Regions from separate parts of the Homo sapiens genome. Here region 1 is linked to region 2. Evidence: promoter capture Hi-C in human tissues and cell types (Jung and others, 2019). All regions are on one chromosome and are shown on one strand. The core of a region is centred on a gene start or on the middle of the fragment in contact, and the rest is flanking DNA. Distances in the headings are between cores, read along the strand shown.

Evidence for each region. The method cuts DNA at HindIII sites, captures the fragments that hold promoters and counts their contacts. A contact is called where the count stands out against the background at its distance.
Region 1: a fragment that was not itself captured here is called in contact with the fragment with the promoter of SLC6A19 in region 2 in 2 of the 25 tissues and cell types used here (H1 embryonic stem cells and mesenchymal stem cells).

The regions. Positions count from the first base shown.
Region 1 is chr5:963,313-966,740 of GRCh38, reverse strand. LOC124900931 (a long non-coding RNA gene) reads left to right here and starts at 2,580. Exons shown (of 2, transcript XR_007058676.1): 1 at 2,580-2,642. RefSeq lists enhancers at 904-1,405, 2,992-3,151. The HindIII fragment of the contact is 5,091 bases long and covers 1-3,428 here.
Region 2 is chr5:1,200,038-1,203,311 of GRCh38, reverse strand. It overlaps SLC6A19 (solute carrier family 6 member 19), which reads right to left and starts at 1,717. Exons shown (of 12, transcript NM_001003841.3): 1 at 1,460-1,717. The coding sequence starts at 1,661. The HindIII fragment of the contact is 17,186 bases long and covers 1-3,274 here.

The sequences.
Region 1 (3,428 bases), core at 386-2,885, 240 kb after region 2:
GGGAGGTAGAGGTTGCCGTGAGCTAAAATTGCACGACCGCACTCCAGCCTGAGGGACAGAGAGAGACCCCATCTCAAAATAAGTAAATACAAATAAATAAATTACAAATGAAGAATAGTAACGTTACAGTGGGGGAAGCCAGCAGATCCCACCAGAACCAGGTGACCAGGGCCAAAACAACCCATAATGAGGCAAAGCATAGGGCCCGTGAGTCACTACTGCGGACGCTGAGCAGGGTATGGGGCTTCTGCCAGTTTCTTGGCACAGACACATAACTTCGATCCAGACATGATAAAATAGCAAACTCAAACTGAGGGCTGTTCTTCAAAACACCCAGCCAGTGCTCTTCCAAGTGGCAAGGCCATGGGAGGCAAGGAAACACGGGGCCTGCCGTGGGCTGGAGCCTACAGCGAGATGACACCTGCGTGCTCATGGAACTCAGTGTTGTTTCTAAAGCAGGAGGTGGATGTTACCAGAAACTGGAGGAATCTGAATCAAGCTACTGTGTAGTTAATTGCCCCGTGTTAATTCTTAGCCTCAATCCTTGTGGTCAAGGTCGGGTATGCAAGGTGCTGACACGGGAGGAAGCTGCCTGAAGGGGGCGGGGACTCCTGGACGATCTTGGCAACTCTTCCATAAGTCTAACGTTATTTCAGAAAAAAAAGTGTAGTGACATAGCTTAACAAAAAATAAGTGTAAAAAAGCTGAAAAGCAACAGTTAATCCTACGTGAGAGACAACGATGGTTGACTTTCTATACTTGGTGTTTCCCCAAGAAAGAAGCCCCTGGATGCCAGGGTCCCTCCCACTCTACACGTCAGCACGAGGCCGCGGTTCGCTCCCATCATCCGGTTCTAGATGTCAGCACGAGGCCGCGGCTCGCACCTGTCATCTGGGAGTTTCTCCCTCCCCTCCTGCCCACAGGACAACTTCTACTTCTCCTTTGGAATTTCTGAACACAGGAGGCCCTTCTCGGAAGCTCAGCTCTGCCTTCGCCCGCCAGGGCTGTTTCTCCCCTCGAGCCTCTGTCTCCACACCTGTGAAACGGGACGATAAGGGCCCCTTCATGGTGCGGAGGGAGGGCTAAGTTCATAAACGCGTGCAAACGAGGTGAGGACTGGCCGGCACGTAGAGACCCCGTGATGGCTGTCGGCCACCAAACAGACATTCTCCGTGCTCTTCATGCTCTTGCTTATGAGGAGAGATGCTGTGAAGATAAGTTTAAAAACGGCCATGCCATGACAGTTCACAAATAATATTATTCCCTCTGCGAATGCCCTTACCTTCTCTGATGACACTTGTTTCCTATCAACATCGATTTCTGTTGGCTTTCATGCCACCCTCTCTGAATGAGAATTGGGAAGACTCCAATGGCTGTTTTTAACCCCATATTTTTCTGTTCTGTAAACTTCTGTTCATTGCCAGGCTTTGTATCTTCCTTCTTTTAAAAGCGAAAGTGTCCTTTCTCTTCTTGTTTGGAACCTAGAATTGTGTATCGATGCATTTTTGGTGATTTCCCAATAACTAGCTGTGATCCTGCTCCACAGAGCCCTAATGCTTGAGCTCAAACTGTCCGAACCCACACTGCACTCCTTGGAGAAAATGAATGCAGCCTGAATTCTGCTGCTGAGAGTGCCTGGCCGTCCTGGTGGTCACTGACTCACTGGGGTCTGGCCGTCCTGGCAGCTCCTCAGGTCACCGGACTCTGGGGAGGCACCGTGCTGGTTCTGCCTGTGCCTGGTGGGACCCCCTGGTTCCCGGCACTGTCTGGGCCTCGTTCTGAGAGATGACTCCTTCTCACCATTGGTCACCAGACCTGGGCCCTCGGCCACTCGTGGCGTGGCTGAGATTTCAGGTCTCAGAGGACTGTCACCCCCTTCCTCCTATTCAATTTCTGCATGAAGTCTCTAAATCAATAACAGAGAAGGGGAGAGGAAAAAGGAAAGAAAAACTCCCACCTAATGGCCATTTTCAGAGCAGCCGCAGAACCATGTGACACAGCTGACCGAGGCAGCATTGCAGATACATTTGTGTGCCTGCAGATCTCAGGTACACGGACCCGTCTCCATGCTCAGGGGGCCTCTAAAGGGGGTGCAGGCTTTGGGGGCAGAGCAGAGGGGTGTAGGACTCTGGGGAGGCCACGACCACTGAGGGAAGGACCTTGCTATCTCACAAGGCCGAATCCTCCCCAAGGTGGCTGCCGTCTCCCTGGACCCTGCGTTCTGCACCCCCGGGAGGTAGGGAGTTGGATCTCGTACCAACGATGAATGCGTGGACACGTGTGGATGCCGTCCGCTTCCCAGAGTCCCCAGCCGGGCTCCCCAGGGCTCTGCGGGACCCTCTTCCATGCACCTGTGCTGTTTGCTCTCAGGTGGCTGCAAGCAAGTCCCTTTTCTCAGCCAGGCAGGAGGGAGTGGAGGAAGGGCCTGTGTGTCTCCTCAGTTTCAAAGAAACTCCCACGGCAGAGCGTGCTCTTGAACTAAAGCTTGAATGAATCAGAAACATCTGGGCTGTTTTTTCTGTGCTTAAGATACAGGAAACAGACCCATCCAAAGCCGTTTGGGGTTTTATCAAGGGGTCATTTAAGATGCAGAGCAACTTGAAATCGCCCATCTGTTGGAGAGCCGTGCGTGCTGACAGAGGGTAAGAAACTACAGCCCGCGCAGCTGCGGTCTTCATGTGGTCGCTGCACGCAAGGGTTTGCCGTTATCTGTTGCTTCTGAAGGCAAGGGTGAGGGGAGCGGAACTGGGTGTTGCCTGGTTCTGCCGTCAGACCAGGCACTGGGGAGGGAGTCCTGTGGGGAGGTGGGGCCAGGCCTTGTCTCTGTGACAGTGAACGTCCCTGTCCATGTTGGTGTTTCTCAGACAAGCCACCTCCTTCCACCCCCACGGTGGTGCAAGGGGAGGCTTTAGTCCAGGATAACAAATTCTGAACCAGCTGCTGCGTCTGGAGCCCCTGAGGGCTTATGCACTGGTGACCAGGGAGTTTCCTGGCTTATCACATCCGAGGCCGACTTTCGGGCTACAGAGGGGCGTGTGAGCCCCTGGAGTAGACAGAGGAACTGCTTCTCTGCCAGGCGCTGTGTTGAGATGAGAGGGAGGGCAGGTCCTTCGGCTTCTGAAACATGAAACAACCCCACACCTAGGGCAGGGCGTGCAATGCCACCATGGCCTGGAAGACCCAAGAGTGATGAGTGCTGAGCACAGGCCAGGCCCGGGGCTGTCACGGGCAGAGCCACTGGCCCGGCGTGCAGGTGGGAAGGAGGTCTCGGTAACTAAGCATTCGCATGATTCTGTCCTCTGAGGACTGGGGCAGGTGCTTCCTCTACCTCCCAGCAGCCTCCCTAATTCCAGAAGAATAAGAACAGGGGAGAGGAAGCCAGTGCAAGGGCTCCCACCTGCTCCCTCCAAGCCAGAGGTGCTGCCTCG
Region 2 (3,274 bases), core at 468-2,967:
TGGGTGTCAGAGCGGGGACTATCTGAGGTGCTGGGAGCCCCATCAGATTCCTGCCCAAGCCCGCATCTTAGAACTTGCCCTTCTGTGCAAAGACAAATAACTTCCCAGGCAGGCTCAGGCAGTCCCAACCCCTCCTCTTCCCAGGAGGCATGTGTCTGCCCCTCCATCCCCAGTGGGGATGTGAGCCTGTGACTCAGTTTCTCCTCCAAGCTAAACAAACTCAGGGTGTGGGTGAGCGCAGGGATCCTCCCCACAGGATAGGGCCCTGGGGGAGGGGGCGAGGACAGTGGCCAGGAAGTCCCCTGAGGCTTTGGTGAGCTGAGACTTGGGGACTGTCAGGGACTATAGTATCGGAGTGGCCAAGGTCCCCCGACCTGCCTCCAGTGGAAAGTGCAGGCTGGACCAGAGGCTCATGAAGCGCCCACCCCCGCAAGGCAGTGATCAACTCCTTGACAATGCTGGAGGCGAAACTGATTCAGGAAAAGCCCATTTCTGTTTTTCTTTAAAAACCTTCACATCACAAAGCCCGCGTGAGAGACAGCAGCTCTCCATGGTGAGAAGGAACAGGGCCCCCTGAGGGCAGACTCCTCTAAACGGAGGCTGAGACCTTCACGGCCCCCCCGTGAACTGCCCCAGGGCAGCAGGAAGCCTGTTTCCCAAGGGTGCCCGGCCCTCCTGGACCTTCCGCTGAGAAAGCAGCAGGTTTATGAGGGCAGCAGCTTTGGGGTTCGCCAAGCCCAAGGCTGAGTTCAAGTGTGGGGGTCCTAGGTACAGCCCCCTGCCAGGCCTGGGAGCCACTTCTCAGATGCTCAGGACCACTGGGCAGGAACACAAATGTCACCTCTGTGCCAGCAGCGGCCATGCCTACCTGGGCCGCAGGAGCCAGAGGAACGAGGAGCAGTCAGGCTTGTGTGTTGGGTGGGCACAGCGGCTCCCGGCCTCCAGGCCTGAGGGCACCTGGCTCAAGAGCCAGGCCCGAGTCCACAGGCTCCGGCTACCCACTCTGCTCCTCTAGGGTCACCTGCCCCCAACCCAGCTACCTCCTCTGCTCCCTGCACTGGCAGGTGTCCGCCTGTGGGGCTGGGACGAGAGGTGATGCCCAGGAGGGCCCAGCCCCGCGTCCTCCGAGGAGGGGCTGTACCGGGAGAAACACCCTTCCCCCGGCCCCACCCTCAGGCCAGAACGTTCCAGGACTGCCAGTCTGGAACACAGGGCCCTCCCTGGAGCCCCACACGAAGTCTTGGGGTCGTGCCGGCCAGGCCCATCTCCTCACCAGCAGCCTAGGAACCGGGCACGGGGGCCCGTGGGGGCCCCAGCTCCCCCCACACCCTGCGGCTTCTCCTCTCCCCTCCGTGCTTGGGGAGCCGAGGGTCCGGGGAGGATGTCTGCCCAGGGCCTCTGCGTGTGTCTGTGCTTCCCTGGCCACGGCCTCGCCCGCAGCCCCGCCCGGCCAGCCTACCTCCTCCGTGGCTCTGACACAGGTAGGGGAAGCGCCACACGTTGCCGAGGCCCACGCAGAAGCCCAGGCAGGTGAGCATGTACTGCGCCTTGTTGTCCCACTTCGGCCGGGAGCTGGCCTCCTCCTGCTCGATGGTCTCCAGCTCAGCCAGGGACGGGATCCGGGCGTCTAGGCCGGGGTTGGGCAGCACGAGCCTCACCATGGTGGTCGCTGGACGGCTCCGCACACAGCAGGCAGGGCAGAAGCTGGAGGGCGAGTGGCCGTGGGCCGGGAGCCGGGCACTTTATAGAGAACCTTTGGCACCTCGCCCCAGGCACCTGGGCAGAACGGAGCCAGTCGTCAGCAGATCTGCAGGGTGCGTCTGCGGAGGGACTGTTAATGCCTTATCTGCAGAGACGCCCGGCCCCGGGGCCAGCAGAGCCACCCACTGCCTTCGGGCAACCGGAGGCTGCTCCGTGGGCGCTGGCCACCCCTCCCCCTGCACAAACGCACACACAAATGCGTACAAACGCCGGTGCACCCCGGGGAGAAAGAACCAAGGCAAACAGGATGCTGGCTCTGCCCCGGTCTGGGAGCCCCTGGCTGCCGCACACCCCCACCTGCAGGACGCCGGGTGGGCCTCTCCACAGCTCCCTGGAGCACAGGCATCCCCGGCCCCCACCCCAGTCCAGGGAGAGGGAACTCAGCGGGAGCAGGGGCCCTGGGGCAGCTCTTGGTCTGCTCACACCAAGCACAGCGAGGCCCTGGACCCCTCCAGCCTGGCTCTGGGCTCTAGACGGCTGCTCGGGGGCCCGGCTTCCCACCAGTCCCCACGGAACCACGGCTCCTTGGGATGTGGCCTGAATCAACCTGAGAGTGGGGTTCCCGTGGCTGTGCCCCCTGGGCCACAGTTTCATTCTGGGGTTCGTAATGAACTTCATAATGAACAGCTCACGCTGCCCAACCCCAGCCTGGATGCCCGGATCCCATCCCTGGCTGAGCTGGAGAACATCGAGCAGGAGGAGTTCAGCTCCCGGCCATAGGTTCAGGACCCAGAGCCACCCTCTAGGGCAGCCTCGTCCCCAAGGGCCCTCTGGGGTCACGGGGGATGGAGGGTCCTGTGTCATGGAACCTGCAGCCACCCCAGATCCCCACCTTCCCGGTGACTGCACGGTTTCTGTCCTTCTGTGGAGCACTTTGTGGGGGGCAGTCCTGTGCCGGGCATGGGACAGCGAAGGAGATGGTGTTCCTGCTCCCCAGCAAAGAGGCCGTGCAGGGAAGCCACAGGGCTGACCACGGGGTCCAGGAGGGGCAGGAGGAACGTTGCGGGGAGTTCAGGAGAGGATCCTGGGGGTTGTGTCTCCAAAGCCAGAGTGGGATTCTCTCCTGGTTTTCCGCACAGGGAGTTGGAGGCCATCCTCTGTCGGGCGCTGCCCGTTTGGGCCCCCACTTGGGCCTCCCCTCACGTCTCTCCCATCTAGGAGACCTCAAGCTCTGGAATCCCGGACCAGCCTTCCTGAGGCCAGGGACGGTGCCACACCCTGCGCCTCCCCAGGCCTTCCTCCCGTTGCCTCCTTCAGCCTCTGGGCTCACCTCCCTGGGGGCCCTCGCTGGCCCCCTGCCCCCACTGCCCACATGGCTCCTTCCATAGCCGGGGCCTTCCCGGCAGGCATGGGACTTTCTCCCTAGCCTCCTGGTTCCTTTATCTCAGTCTGCACCGCTGGGCGATAAGGACCCAGAGCCGCCCCCGCCCCCACCTCCACCCTGCACAGGGCTCATCGACATTCGCTGAGTAATGGAGATGAAGGCGCTGGGGGCGTCACTCAGAGATGAGCG